4 separate regions of the Homo sapiens genome follow, and all the other regions are linked to region 4. The links are contacts of gene promoters, found by promoter capture Hi-C in blood cells and fetal thymus (Javierre and others, 2016). All regions are on one chromosome and are shown on one strand. Each heading gives the region's core, a stretch centred on a gene start or on the middle of the fragment in contact. The rest is flanking DNA. Distances are from core to core; before and after follow the strand shown.

Region 1 (4,027 bases), core at 1,500-3,999, 650 kb after region 4:
ATATAGAAGGTATTCTCTTAGAACAGTTTCGTACCTTAGAAAGACATTAAGTTATTAAAATTTTATCCAACTTTTTGTGTGTATGTCATATGAAAGAGTGTTCTTAGGTTTAACGAGATGATGAACAGGGTCCAAAATATTAAGACTTGCTGACCTAGATGACCAATATATTCATAACCTAGAGGAAAAAGATGGCAGAAAAAAATTTACTTTGAACCTATAGCTAATATCACAACATAACCATGTTGAATCAACAAGTCAGTTGAGCCCTCAACAGAAAGGTGATAAAGTTGTTGGAGTTGTTGGGAGATGTTTGTTCTTGAAGTTTGCATTGCACATTTCTTATGAGATATTCGATTGTATATAAAATACAAATGACATCTGCTGTGTGTGCATTTTAGCAGCCACTGCCAGGAAAGCATATGCCAAGATAAATAAGAAACTTAGGTGATGGATCTGAATGTGAATCAAAACCAGAAAAACAATCCATGCTGGCATAATGAGCTTCTCACAGATGATTTCTGTCATAAATGGTATGTATTGAGGGGTAATGCTAATGAAATGAGTTGAAAATATGTCTATTTTCATTATGATCATCAATTTGCAATACAAATACGTAAGAAAAACCACTTCTTCATTTTAAAGTTGGGTCCAAATGAGTGTAAGCAACTGCCAAAAATGATTACTTACTATAGTTTAAATTTTTTTTTTTTTTTTTTCCGGGACAGAGTCTCGCTCTGTCGCCCAGGCTGGAGTGCAGTGGTGTGATCTCGGCTCACTGCAAGCTCTGCCTCCTGGGTTCATGCCATTCTCTTACCTCAGCCTCCCGAGTAGCTGGGACTACAGGTGCCTGCCACCCTTGCCCAGCTAATTTTTTGTATTTTTAGTAGAGACAAGGTTTCACCATGTTAGCCAGGATGGTCTCGATCTTCTGACCTTGTGATCCACCCACCTCGGCCTCCCAAAGTGCTGGGATTACAGGCGTGAGCCACCGTGCCCGGCATATAGTTTAAAATTTTAAATCTCATTGTATATCTCATTAAGAGTTCATGGAAATTAGTGCATTGCCAAAAGATGGGCAAATCAGTGTCAATAGAAAATTTAACCAGTTTGGGATGGTTGCTTGTAGAAACACACATAAGACCAATAATAAAGCTTGAATTGTTGTTTGCATTTACTTTAAATAACCTAAATATAATTACAAATTAACACATGTTGGCATATGTATGGACACACACGTTTATCTGTGCCTATATGTAAATATATTTATGTATATATGTATTTACATACATACACATGTATTATCTAGAAACACATAGTCTCAGCAGTTTATAAAGTAGGTCAATTTAGCTTTAAGGGCAAATATTTTATATCATCTAAACTACTGCCTCCAAAACTTACCCCAATACAACAGCAACAAAAAGCACAGTTTGTATTTGGAGATCATGTCTTTCAAGATTGAATTAGTAAATTAAAGTGTTTGATATTCAGTTTACTTTAGAATGTTACCTTATTACCACGAACAGAAGCTCTTCATTATCCAAACCTCCACCTTTATGGTGGTGTTTAGAGAGGCAAACAATCATTGTAATATCAACATGTGACACATGAACCTACTGCTTATAAAATTAGTCATCATCTCTCTCACTTCCTTACACTACTGCCTCTTCAGGCCTATCCTGTCTTTGAAGATCGGTTTCTCATTCGTGTCTAATGTTACCTGACAACACAATTAAAATCAATTGCAAAGGGAAAGAGCAAATCTGGTGAAGAATGCATGGTTTCTTGAAGTTAGTGAAAATGATGGGGGAGAACTGCAAAACTAGTGAATCATGAGCTTCTGAAAGAGATTCATTTGTAACTGAGAAGGAAAAAAAGAATTGGCAAGGATAATGATAAGATAGATGCTTCCATGGAAATAATTTCAATATCAAAGTATTGGTATTAGGAAAATGGAGGGGGTTCTCAAAAAATTTAGCAAATGCGATTCTCTTTTGGATCATGCTGCAGAAGTCATGCATGATGTCAAGGATATTGCATTGTGCTATCATAATATTTGTTGCAAAATTATTTTTAGTGAAAATTATTTTGTGTTCTATAAATTATAGCATGTAATATTTTATCCTAAATTTCATTAGAGGATGACATTAACTTACATAGATTCATTTTTCAAAGTAAATTCTCAATCATACATCTTTTTTACTATTTATTATTAAAGCATAGGTCCTTTGGGATAGATTCATTTCCATGACCTTTGATAAAGACTTGTCAGTCATATCTAGACCCCTGTCTCCTCTCATCTCTTCTAGTTTGGGCACATCCTTAGTCTCCTTTGCATTAACTTTTGAGTTACTGGAAGTCTCTGTAACTATTCCTAGCTGCACAGGCAATAGATTTATGGAGGAAGGCTCTGTTTCGGATTCTATTTTTGTAATCAAAATTGCATGGGGGATTTTTGCAATCAGAATTATGGCAGATTACATATCTCCTGACATAGTGTCTGTAGAAAACATTCAGTAAGTATTTACTAAAGGAATATAGTTCTTTCAATTTACTCCGGGGTCTGATGCAGAGTTCTAGGAATAGGGTGGGTTGTGGGAGGAGGTGCTATTCCTTTTAATTCCTGTACCCTGACTCCAAAGGCAATGCCAATCTTAATAGACAATGGTCTCAGTGGATAATGTATACCTCTTCAGAGCTGCAGATAATTTCTTCATAGAATTAGTGAATTAGTAAGCAACTAGTAAGTCCTTCAGATCTACTTAGAAGGTATTTACTTCCATACTCCTTCTTACCACCCACTGACTAGGAATGCACACTATTGAAAATGAATGGGTAAAGGATAGTAGGAGGAGTGAAATGGAAAGTTGAAATCAATGCATGGAGAATCAGCTAGGAGATATATGTTCTTGTTTCCATCTCCATGTTTATGGATGTGACTTCTAAACACGATCTAGCTGTTCCATGCATATTCAAACTCTCATTTTAGGTTAGGATGAGAACTTTGCTTTATTCCTTTATGGATGCTGATGGCTCTGCACAAGCTAACTCACATGCCCTTGCTTTACTTTCCCTGGGCTCCAGCACCATACACTGCATGCAGTTCTCTAAAGCCAATATTATTAATGTGTACTGATCTACGTAAAATAAGACAGAGCTATGAATAATTTTACATGCTTTTGCTAAACATTACCCTCAATACTTCAGTCACAATTATGAAGTCTTAGAGTCATTTTTTATTCCAATTTTCCCATTTAATGAATGAGGAAGCAAGATCTTGCAAGGAGAAGAGTCCTTTGTGAGGTCATACTGCCAATAAAAGGCAACCCAGAAATTAGAACCCAGGGATCCCAACTCCCCATTCAATGTTCTGCAAATGACATGGGGTATTCCTTATAAAAGTAGCTCACAGATGTTCTCTGCTTTATAGTGCCACAAAGCAAAGTGATCATCTCCTTTTGATACTTGTTTTTACTGTGACTTTGTGATGTGGATAGCACAGGCACCATCATTCTTATTTGCAGATGTGGAGAATGAATCTGAGAGAGAGTAAGGGCCCTTTTCACAAGGCCTGCTGGCACTAGAGCCAGACAACACTGAGATGCAATACACAGCAATGCATGGACCAGCCTTCTTGCCTTCCTGCCTCCCTCTCTCCCTCCCTTCCTTCCTTCCCCCTTGCTCCCTCCCTCCCTTCCTTCTTCCCTCCCTCCCTGTTTCTCTCCCTTCCTTCTTCCTTCCTTCCTTTCCTCCTCCCTCCCTCTCCTTCCTTCCCTTCTTCATTCCTTCTCCTTGCTTCTTTCCATCCTTCCTCCTTCTTCCTTTCCCTCCTCCCTCCCTTCCTTCTTCCCTCCCTCCCTCCCTCTCCTTCCTCCCTTTCTTCCTTCCTTCCTCCCTTCCTCCCTTCCTTCTTCTCCTTCCTTCCCTCCTTCCTTCCTTCCTCCTTCCTCCTTTCCCTCCTCCCTCCCTCCCTCCCCTTCCTTCCTTCCTTCTTTCCTTCCTTCCTTCCCTCCTTCCTTCCTTCCTT
Region 2 (4,139 bases), core at 1,509-4,008, 670 kb after region 4:
AAAAATTTGAAGGAGGAAATAGAGAAACCTTATAATAACATGATTACCAGTATTGGCCAACTCTTAGTTTATCTGCCTCAATTCCTTTCTCAGGGAACTACTCTGTGCCTCTTCATGTGGTTCTGATGGGTCCATCCTTCAAGTGTGCTGTCCAATCACAGTGGTCGAGCCAAGTGTCAATCAGAAAGCCTAATTTCTCTAAATGTAATCATTGATCCAGAGTGGACACGTGACCCAACCAGAGCCAATTGGAGTTCTTTTGGGGGACTGGAAAGCTTCACTGAGAGTGGGTTTCCCATTCAAAGGTCATGAAGTGTATTCAGTTTCCTCTGTGTAGAAAGATCCTGCTAGAAAACGAAGACAACAGAACCAAGAGATGGAGACACATAGAAAGGGTCATGATGACACTTAAGGGTCTGTGTTCATCCTTGCCTGAGCTAGTACTATCCCTAGAGCCAAAAAATTCTCCTTTTATGTATTTATTTATTTTTAGTTAATTTTGGATTTTAAAGGAGAGAATACTGACTGATTTCATACTCTGCATTGAATAGTGCTTTTTAGTTCTCAAAGCTAAAAACATACAGATGATCTGAGAGAAGGAAATATTTTAGTTTATTATCAAGAGCACTTTTCATTGAAAGCTCTGAAAGCATCTTTAAACATGAGGTTTTTGGAGGGAGAAAAGGCTGACCCCTTGAGCACTCTAGCTCTATGATCATAGGAAATGAGAAAATAGAAACACATAATTTATATGTATTGTAAGCCAAGTATCAATTCTGAAATGTTTTGATATCCCTCCCAAATCCCTAGATTGCAGTAATTCTATAGTCGAATGCCACTGAGCATAAGAAGTAATATATTTTTAAGTCATTCTAACTGGTGAAAACCAGAGCTGTCAATAGGCCAACTACCAGAGATTTCATTTTACACTCAGACCACAAGTGACATTTCCATGAATCTGACTATCTCATATATAGACAATGACAGACACACAAAATGTGCCTTAATTAGTCTATTACATAAATAGAAAAGCAGAAATAAAGTGAGAGAAAGGCAACTTGCAAAACCATTCCACTTCTGTTCTAGAACTTTAAAATAGTTAGAAGCAATACTAAAAGTTATTCATTCAACCTCTTTACTATGCTATGTTGGGACACTGTCACACATACATCCCAGGAAATTTAATTAATGAGATGTTGCCACGTAGGAATATTCTAAGCCCCTACTATCCTAATATCATCTTAAATGTATAAAAGGTGCCCACTGACTTAAACTGATAAGTTAAATATAAAGCAATATGAATTTATGGTTGTTACATGAAACTGGCAAATACTCCTCACTCAAGCCACCAAAATCCTGTCTTTGGACCTCTCTTCTCTGCCTGGTTAATTCCTTGTCATCACCTTCTCTGGATGTGCTGTCATGCCCTCTCCCTCCTGAGCCTGTTTTAGTTATCCCTCTCCTGCTGTCTGTCACATAGAACTGTCACTCTCCTCTATCTCCTTCACTAGACCGGAAATGACAGCAAAGACCGTGTCACCCTCAGTTCTGGACCCCAGAAGAATAGCACAGTTCCTAGCATATAGGATGTGTTCGACAAATTTTGTACTTAAATGAATATATGGCTGCTGATTAGACACATAGTATGGGAACAGGCAGCTCTAGAACCAGCGCTGAAGGTCTTATTAAAAGATACCCATCACTTTAAACTAGTTTGAGTTTAAGGACAGGAATATACATTCCAATGGATCTTACCTTGAAAATGTGCTTCAGTGGTTGTTTACCACCAAACCTTTGACTTCCTATGAGGACACTGGTCCTGCACCCCGTTAGCTCCATGCTTTTCCACCCTGGGTGGTCATTAGAATCCCCTGGAGAAACTTTAAAAATCTATAGCTATCTTGTCCCCATTTAAGCCAGGCTCCATGGGGTTGGGACCAGGCATCATAATTTTTCAAAAGTTCCCCAGGTGATTTTGACGTTCAGTGCAGGGTTGAGAAACATGGAATTAGTTGGTGGGTAGAAGCCTCCCCTACCATCAAGTGGGCTTTCCACTGGACTTTCCTGCTATTTTTATGAAACTAGTTGGAATCCTGGCCCAATAAATAGCACTTATTGCTGAGTGCTCACTGCATGCCAGGGACTTTGCATACCTCATCTCAACAAAATCACTATTGTTCCCTTTATATACAAAAAGAAATTGAGGCTCAAAGGGATTAAGAAGCAGCAGCGATGAGATTGAGATCCACCTCTCTCAGAAGTCAGACCGTGCCCTTTACATGACATATTAGGCTGGTTGGATGGGGTTCTGATTGTGCTAGACTGAGTCCGGGTCAGTGCCTCGGGGTATGTAGCTGGTTCACCCTGCAGGTAAAGAGTCATTTATCCTTCCCCAAGTCAAAGAGGTGTTAGGAAAATGAAGGTGGAAAGGTTTAATGTTTGATGTGATTCTTACGGCAAGTAAACTACTGTAATGAGTAGTTTCTGTTCTTTCTTCACTTTTTTTTTTTTTTTTGAGATGGAGTTTTGCTCTTGCTGCCCAGGCTGGAGTGCAGTGGGAAGATCTCAGCTCACCACAACCTCCGCCTCCCGGGTTCAAGCAATTCTCCTGCCTCAGGCTCCCAAGTAGCTGGGATTACAGGCACCTGCCACCACGCCTGGCTATTTTTTTTGTATTTTTAGTAGAGATGGGGTTTCACCATGTTGGGCAGGCTGGTCTTGAACTCCTGACCTCAGAGCCTCCTATATTGCTGGGGTTACAGGCATGAGCCACTGCACCCGGCCGTAATGAGTAGTTTCTATAAAAGAGACTAGTTTAAAGACAAAAGGAAATGCTAAAAGAAAGCCCTAACTATTGCCTTTATATATAGTTTATTTGTTAATTCATATGTATGTTTTGGTTATTTAATAAACATAAATGAAAATGTCTTCTCTGTTCCAGATGCTGCATGATATGCTGGAGATATGTAAAAGAATAGCTCAGTAATCCCCTAAATCTTAAAATGAATGCAGGCATTGTGTCAAAATAATAATAAGCAAACTCTCCACTAAAAATTATTTTTAATAGTTAAAAACAGGAATTGACTTTAAAAGTTTTAAGGCTCTCACCTCCTTAATAAGATGCTAAATTATAAAACATATGGCATTATCAGGAAATAAGAAGAAACAAAAAAATCATAGATATCCCAGTTGAATTCCTGACCCATTTAGAATGGTTTAGGAATTGTTAGTAGGCTGAAATCTCTCTTAATTTACCACAGACTTTATACATATTTTAAAACTCAGCTCGTGGAAAATATAACTATGGCCAATGATTTTAAGCTATTTTTATATGATCTCAAGGGCATAGACATATTTATTACCTTTAATAAAGTAATTAAAGTCCCATTTTACTCATGCTTCTTAATGATTATGTACTGAGTTATTAGGGAGAAGGCTATAAACCTTTCTAAGGGCAAAGGCCAGGAGGGCAGAATAAACCAGTGGGGAGCCTTGGAGAATTGCACCCAATGTGCTCATTCTTAAATAGGAAAGAGGAAACAACCCATGTCAAGAAGGATGGAGTCCAGTCCTGTTGCCCTTGTAAGGAAGTGAAATTTGTTTAGCTTCTTCTTTAACCTTGCAGTGAGGCAACCTTTGGCTATGCTGACCACGTGCATGATACATTTGGACTAATGCTATTTTAGGTTGGTATTAGTGATGGGAACATTCACTTCTTGGCTCCTACTTGAAGACATGTCTCCCTTTAATAATATCCACCCTTTACCACACAGTTGCTTTGTGCCTTATACTGTTCTAAGTGCTTTCCTTATCCTTATTCATTTGATCCTCTCAGGAACCCTTGACGGCATTCCCACCTTATAAATAAGGAAACTGAGGAACACAGTGGTTAAGGAAGGTGGCCAAGTCTCCCAGGTAATGCATGGCAGAGCTGGGAGCCGAAAGCAGGTGTCTGGCTGCAGGACCCTCGCTCTTCACCACCACACTTTGTCACCTCTCATGAAGACGTTTGCTTCTCTTCTTCCTTCACCTCAAATTCGTAAGTTGAAAAAGCCACCAGGGATGTTTGGAACTCATGGAGGAAGGCAGTCACAAGGGGCCGGTTGGGTCTCGACAAATGGTGTCATTGCCCTAAGTAA
Region 3 (3,907 bases), core at 733-3,232, 630 kb after region 4:
AGTATATTCAAAGTGTTGTGCAGCCATCGACACTACGTAGTGCTATAATATTTTCATCAACCCAAAAGGAAACCCTGTAGGCAAGAAACAATCATACCTCATTCTCCCATTTTCCTTAGCCCCCTGGTAAAACCAACCTGCCTCCTGTCTCTGTGAATTTGCCTATTCTGGACATTTCATGTAAATGGAATCAGACATATGTGGCTTCTTTCTCTTGGCATAGTATTTTCAAGGTTCATCCATAAAGTACACATGTCAGTACTTTCTTTCTTTCTATGGCTGAATAATATTTCATTATATGGATATGCCACATATTGTTTGTCCACACTTTGTTCATTGATGAACATTTGTGGGTGTTTCTACCTTTTGGCTATTGTGAGTAACGCTGCTATGAACATTCCTGTACAAGTTTTTGTTTGAACATCTGTTTCTAATTCTTTAGGATATCTGTCTAGGAGTGGAATTGCTGGGTCATATGGTAATTCTATGTTTAACCTATTGAGGAATGAATAATACTTTTCTATTGAATATTACCAGGATTCTGCAAAGATTGAATGTGGTTGGTAGGGCAGATCTATACCTGCTGAAATGCCTGGGTGAAAGAGCTATGGAGCTTTGGGATATGTGTGCTTGTATCAGCATCGGTCAGGAAGATTGACTTGTATGATTCATTTCTCCACTAGCTCATAAGCTACTTTCTTCAGTGGAACTGCATTGTCAAACACTAGGGCATTGGAGTTGGACTGTATGAATTCCAATCCCAGGCTTGTCATGTATCATTGTGACCTTATTTACATTTATTTATTTGAGACAGGATCTCGTTCTGTCGCCCAGGCTGGAGTGCAGTGGTATGATCTCGGCTCACTGAACCTGCCGCCTCCTGGGTTCAAGCGATTCTCCTGTCTCGGCCTCCCAAGTGACTGGGATTACAGGTGTAAACCACTGCACCTGGCCACTGTGTGACTTTAAACTAGTTGTTTGACTCCTAAGACTTAGTTTCATCACGTGTAAAAGAAAGAACTAGCTCTAACTACAACATGAAGTTGTGGTTACTTTAAACAGGGCAGGGTATTTCAAAAGTGTAGTATATCACTTGGCAATAAATACTCAAAAAGTATTAGCTTGTATTGTGTTTCTACTACTTGATATCCCTGTGGTGTTTAAGTAGCACAGTGCTAGGCACACTAAAAGGCACATAATCATATGGAAATAATGACATATTTAATGGGAAATGACTCAGATCATTTTGAGGATTATCAATTTTTTCTCTTTTTTCCTTCTTTTTTTGTTGTTGCATGTCTGTTGGAATATTCTGTTTCCTCAAGGGTGGGCAAAAGATGGGATGTGGCATTGGAAACTCAATGTCAATGAATGTAGGCAGAGATTTTCTTATGGGTACTTTTCCTTTAATCCCACTCTGGATGAGGTCAGTTGCTGGCAGAATGGGGGAATTGATGAGCCATTTATCTCCTGCTCAAAGTGTTTCATACCTTGGGGAGGAGCTTCTCCAAAAGGAAATATCAAAGAACTCTCTGTCTGTATTAGAAAATGCATTTTAGTTAATTCAGGTCCACTCATGATGTTTTGATTGCAAGCCCCATATAATGACCTTTGAGTTCACTTTACATATTTTTCTATGCCAGTGCAAGCCTTCAGCGTTACAAACATCAGGTTGCATATACTTTTGCTTGTATGCTTGCTTCTGGCTGAGAATCTGCCCTGGGCTCTGACTATGCTGTATCCCTGACTCATGCTGCTTCGAGGCTCGCCTGTCCTGACGTACACCCATAATTCACAACTCTGCAGCTTCCCAGAACCCCAATGCTACACTTCAAGGACGTTTGGCTCCTACTTACTGAAGGTAGGAGCAGATTCAAGTGGAGAGGCAGGAAGTGGCGAGTGAGAGGTAGTGACATCCGGTCACGAACTCTCCCTGCTGAGGAAAGGTCTTAGAGCAATGTGCTGAGTGATGAGGCCCCTCCACCTCTTCTTTACTTACAATCAGCCTGGTACTACTGTGGTTTTCTGCTTGCTTCTCTTCACAGTTATGACTTGTAAGAAAGACCCTTCATCATTTTACAGAGGTGATTTATGCCATAACAAATGGCCATAAAGAGTGCCACAACTGCAGTGGGCCAAGCACCAGATGTGACACAGAATATGTGATGTAGGTTAAATATCAAGTACCTGTCAGTAATTTGCTACGACTCTGAGGATACTTCTTAAAGAGGACTTTACTGCTGGTCTGGTTTAGCCTTTCACCAGCTGAAGAAAGTTTACCCAAACGTATTGGGACTCAAGGGTTTTCTGTAGGTGAACTACAAAGGTGAGTGGAGTGCCCTTGACCCTGAGCCTCACTGGTAGGTAGAAAAGGATTGCTCATATGAGATTGATGCCATAAAAAGCCCAGGAAACATAACGGCCAAGTGAAAATCATATGCTTACTCTGCAAGCACCTCTTTAAGGCCAAGCCCCCAGGCTCTCCTTCCAATAATATTGTAATTACTAAGGACAATCTATACAGACACCTTGAAGCCATTGCTACATGGGGTGACAGTAGTAAGAATCATTTCTGTCTGTCCCGATTTTTCTGTCTTAGCATCCGTCATGAACAGATAGTAAGCGTCTCTGTCCAAATGATACATATTAAGGGACAAGTGTGTTCAAACATTAAAATAGTCCCACTAATGGGAGGCTGAGAAACGTAGATGGCACAGATGAGCAGCACAGCACTCAGAGAGTCATTAAACGTGAAGATCAACATAAAAATCTCCAACCTGCTTGCTTTACCCATGTCAAAGCCAGGATGAGATGTATGTAGGACATGACACACAGAGGCGAGAATGTATATTTCCATCACTTCTGAGCAACTTCCTAGCAAAAAGTTCCATGAGGACTTCCACCTCCTTAAAGTCAAGGCTTTTCATCTATTACGAATTCTCAACTGACTTCTGGGGCAAACATCATAAAGCAATTTTATCTCCACTGAATATTTCACCATTCTAAATAGAAACTCTTCCAGCCTCTTACCCTGTTGCTGAATTTGCCCTAAAGAAAAGTAACCCTAAACCAACATATGCAGGCTCTCATGAGTTAAAACACAAACCCCTTACAACCATGTTATATATATGAAATTCATCTTTTAACACAAAAAGCTGAAAAGCAGTTTTAAGAAGACTTCACAATGCCATCCCACACCATGAGTTATTTAATTGCAATAGGAATACATGTACCAAAAATCATTCCCTAATTAGCTTAAACCTAAAACAGCAGTTGTTAAATATGTGATTGGTGCTGTTGCAAGAGGGTGTGCTTTTGCCATTGTGTCGCAGAGGCTGTGATGGTGTTCAGGTTTTATTTTTAAAGTTTGGGTAATTATATCTTAAACTAACAGCAGGGGGGAAATGAATCATGTATTTGTCTCTCTTATTACAGCTTCTCTCCCCAAAAGTGTTTCCTTTCTTGCCGCATTTACCTAGCTGGCAAGGTGTTACTCTGGGTCCTGAGGACAGAAGCATCTGGGATTTGATCACAAATTGTATAGTAAACATTCTGAGACAGGTGACTGCCACCCAAATTCATTATAAAGTGGAAAAAATGCACTCAATTAATTCAGTACATTTGCTGGCTATAAAACTTGAACAATCAACAAGAAACAGTTTGGCATTGGAGGTAAAGTTCTGGACTGGATGTCAGAAAACCTGGATTTGAGCCCACCTCTGCCAGTGACTAGTGGGGCACCTCTGGCCCCCCCTAGCTCCTGGGGTCTCGGTTCTCTTTTATGCTCACTTAGGTTGCTTGCAGCTCTGAGATGTAGAATTCCACATCAATAAAGAAGAGTGGAATGGTGTGAATGTCATGAATATACAGCTACTTGTATAATCTACTGCTTTTCTCCAATTAGTAT
Region 4 (3,585 bases), core at 513-3,012:
CACCTCACGCTTGTTAGAATGGCTATTATAAAAAAGATCAAAGACAACAAGTTTTGTCCAGAATGTGGAGAAAAGGGAACCCTGGTACACTGTTGGTGGAATGTAAATTAGTACAGCCATTTTGGAAAACAGTATGGAGGCTCCTCAAAATCTAAAAATAGAATTACCACATGACCCAGAAATCCTACTTCTGGGTATATATACAAAGGAATTGAAATCAGTATGTTGAAGAGATAGCTGCATTCCTGTGTTGTTTTCAGCATTATTCACAATAACCAAGATATAGAAGCAACTAAGTATCCATCAACTGAGGACCGGATAAAGAAAATGTGGCACATATATACAATGGAATACTATACAGTCTTAAAACAGAAGGCAATTCTGTCATTTGCAACAACATGGATGAACCTGGAGGACATGAGGCCAAGTAAAATAAGCCAGGCACAGAAGGACAAACAGCACATGATCTTACTTATATACTTGGGGTCTAAAAAAGTTGAACTCATAGAAGCAGAGTAGAATGATGGTTACCAGGGGCCTGGCAGAGGGCTGATGTGGAAGGGAGGGATGTTGGTCAAAGGATACAAAGTTTTAGTTAGGTAAGAGGAGTAAGTTTTAGTGATCTACTGCACAGCATGGTGACCATAGTTGATGATGTATTGTATATTTCCAGGAGAGTAGATTTTCACCACAAAAAATAAGTAGGTGAGGTGATGGATATGTCAATTAGCTTGATTTAATCTTTCTACAATGTATACATATATCAAAACATTACACTGTACGCTATAAATATATAAATTTGTCAATAAAAATAATTATATAAATATATATTTATATAAAACAAAATACATGCTAAGGATAATGCAATGAACTGCAAAAAGTTGTACAGGCTCCCAATAAATAATTTTTGAACGCCTAAGAGCTAAATAAATGCAATACATCACTCCCAGGTGTCTCCACTAGGGGGCCCCATTCCCTCCCGTTCCATCACCTGCTTTCCTCAAGGTCGTCTCCACCCTCCTATTTGTTGATACCCGGCCTCTGACCCAGTTCATCACTTTCCCGGGCTTCCGGGCGCCACCCTCTTCAGGTTTTCCTCCTACCCCTCCAGCCCTGCCCCTCTGGATCTCCCATCCTCCCAGCGCGCCAGACTGCATGCGGCCTCCCCGCCCTGTGTCCAAGAGGCAGCTTCCACTCCACGCGGGCAAGCCTGAGCTCCAGAGCCGTCCTCAAGCCGCCTCCCCCCGAAGCACTGGGACTTCATCCTCCCGGCTACTACTCGTGCCCAGGGACTAGGCCCTGAGCCTTCCCTTCTCGCACGCCCCATAGCCAAGCTGCTCAGCAGAACCTGACGGCTCCACCTTCAAACTACGTCCGGAATCCGACCCCTCTCCACGCCCACTGCCTCCACCCCGGCCACCTTCCTCGGTCACCCTGGCAGCTGCAATGACCAGGGTGACCTTTCTGAAAAGGGAGGCTCTGTTCGGAGCCCTCGCGGGGCTCCCCAGCACAGCGGCCTCCCATGCCCACCTGCTCGGGTGGGATTACTTTCCAACCCCGTTTCCATCCCCCTCCCTGGTCTCCAGCCGCAGCGACCCCCACGCAGAGCCCGGAAGACCTTGGGCCCCGCACATGCTGCCGGCCCGCTAAGAGCTCTGGGTACCCCCGGAGCGCCTTCCAGGCTTTCTCCTAGAGGCGCTGTGTCCCGACCGCGCTCCGGACCTGAGCCACGGCTCACCTGGGGCAGCTCGCGCCCCCGAATACAGTCTCCCACGCCCCGCCCCCCGGGGTGCCTCCCTCCCAGCTCTCTGTACCCACCCACCATCCCCCACATCCCTTCCTCCAACCGCTAGCCAGTCACCAGCCCGGGACCGCAGGGCAGAGGCCGGGCCGCGCATGCGCACCGCGGACCGGTGCCACCTCCGCTCGCGAGCCCGCGGCAGGCCCTGGGCGGTGCGCGCAGTCCCGCGAGAGCAGTGCTTGGTCGGGACCTCGAAGCCGGAGCCCGAGCGGGAGAGGCCGCGGAGACCCCGGCCCGGCGCAGGCAGAGACGCACCTGCGGGAGGCGGGCGCGCCGGCTGGAGAGGAGGCCGTGGGGCGGAGCGGCTCAGCGTTCTGCTCGGCTGCAGCGGCCCCTGCCGGAGACCCGGGCGCCGTGGTCTTCTTTATAATTGAAGGATTGTCTCTCTGTTTTTATTTGGGGTGGGGGTGGGGGTGGGGGGCGGCGCAGTGACTTGCTTCGACTTTGTCAGCTTCCAGGGTTCATTCCACTGCCCAAATATGTAGTGAGTTACTACCGGCTTTGCTTCCTCCTTCAGCAAACGGCTGGACCACACAACTTCAGGAGAGAGGATTTTAAATGTTAGGGTCATTTTCCCTAAAACGATTTCAAATGACGGTGAGTTGGTTCCCAGGCTAGGCCACCTAACCTCGAACGCAATGACGAGTGCACTCTGACTGCTGAGCTGAGAGCCTTCCGTGGCTCTGGGACCCAGTGACTCACGTGGCTCCGCATGTCCCCGTTCCCTTAAAATCGGAGTCTTTCCTTTTCTTGGATTCCGGCTTGCCACCAGCACCACTTGGCAGAATGGAATTGCTTGCGGGCATGTCAGTGGACTAGAAAGGGAAGTAAGTGGTCTGAGAACTTGGGGGCCAAAAATGTTACATTAACATTTTTTGCCTACCTAAAATCTCAGCCACTTCCCACAGTTTGGCTGGAAATTCAGCCCATGTTGAGGCCCTTCTCATTCCTGCAGGTGTTACCAGCAACTCAGAGGTTTATGGAGTAACGAAATTGGGGAGGGCCTCACATCCGGCTGCTGTTTTTCCCCCTAACGTGTATGGTGCTTATTCTGAGCCAGACACTTTTAAGAACTGCACATTATTAACCATTTTAAATCGTCCCCACCACCTGATGAAATAGGTACTGTTATCCCCACTTTATGGGTGGGGAAACCGAGGCCCAGGGAGGTCAAGTAACTGCGCAAAGCACAAAACTGTTGAGTAGTAGTGTTACCAGGGCAGTCCTGGAGAAATCGCTCAGAGGGCAAAACTGAGAGCTCATTATTTTCTTAAACAGTAGACAGCTGAAAATGCTCATTGTTTTTTAAACCGTTTTGTTTGTTTGATTTTTTTTCCTAGTCTCTTTATCTATAGGTAACCCAGCTTAAAACAACTGCGGTTGGCCCGGGATCCTCACTGCCCTTTGCCAAGTACCAGAGAAAGATAAGGCCTACTAGGAACCAGAGAAAACCAGAACCAGCCACCCCTTGTTACTTTTAGATCATTAATACATCATTATATGCTCAACTCCCGACCCGTAGAAGAGAATCGCCGCCATTTTCTGATAGTGCATTGTATGAAGAGGCATGTTTATGAAATGCACCTGTGCGTCTAGAGTTCCTCCCGGCATATGCTTGCATACCTCCCCACTCCACATCTAACGCCTTACAATTCCCCAGCTTCCCAAAGCTCTGGAAGAAGGGGGTCTTTAGAGTGAAAGTTTACTCCTTCTCTATTCCTGGCCAGGAATGAAACCCGCTTGCCGTTTTTTCCAGTTGGTGTGCTTTCTTTGCAACTGATACA

The links. Contacts are between HindIII fragments. The CHiCAGO score rates a contact against its expected background, and 5 or more counts as called.
Region 1: a contact is called between a fragment that was not itself captured here and the fragment with the promoter of SIRT5 in region 4, in 1 of 17 cell types (naive B cells). The highest score is 5.3, in naive B cells.
Region 2: a contact is called between a fragment that was not itself captured here and the fragment with the promoter of SIRT5 in region 4, in 2 of 17 cell types (monocytes and M2 macrophages). The highest score is 6.4, in monocytes.
Region 3: a fragment that was not itself captured here is called in contact with the fragment with the promoter of SIRT5 in region 4 in 1 of 17 cell types (megakaryocytes); the score reaches 6.0 in megakaryocytes.

The regions. Positions count from the first base shown.
Region 1 is chr6:12,921,469-12,925,495 of GRCh38, reverse strand. All of the region lies in intron 4 of PHACTR1 (phosphatase and actin regulator 1), which reads right to left. Among named protein-coding and RNA genes, the nearest start is that of PHACTR1, 210 kb to the right of the region's middle. The HindIII fragment of the contact is 3,183 bases long and covers 1,158-4,027 here.
Region 2 is chr6:12,902,911-12,907,049 of GRCh38, reverse strand. All of the region lies in intron 4 of PHACTR1 (phosphatase and actin regulator 1), which reads right to left. Among named protein-coding and RNA genes, the nearest start is that of PHACTR1, 190 kb to the right of the region's middle. The HindIII fragment of the contact is 4,961 bases long and covers 278-4,139 here.
Region 3 is chr6:12,939,559-12,943,465 of GRCh38, reverse strand. The region is part of intron 4 of PHACTR1 (phosphatase and actin regulator 1); the gene reads right to left. Among named protein-coding and RNA genes, the nearest start is that of PHACTR1, 220 kb to the right of the region's middle. The HindIII fragment of the contact is 5,602 bases long and covers 1-3,907 here.
Region 4 is chr6:13,572,778-13,576,362 of GRCh38, reverse strand. SIRT5 (sirtuin 5) reads right to left here and starts at 1,762. Exons shown (of 10, transcript NM_012241.5): 1 at 1,619-1,762. It overlaps LOC105374937 (a long non-coding RNA gene), which reads left to right and starts at 1,929. Exons shown (of 2, transcript XR_926497.4): 1 at 1,929-2,398; 2 at 3,142-3,585. RefSeq lists enhancers at 825-1,410, 1,000-1,479, 1,411-1,997 and a silencer at 1,690-2,209. The HindIII fragment of the contact is 7,984 bases long and covers 1-3,585 here.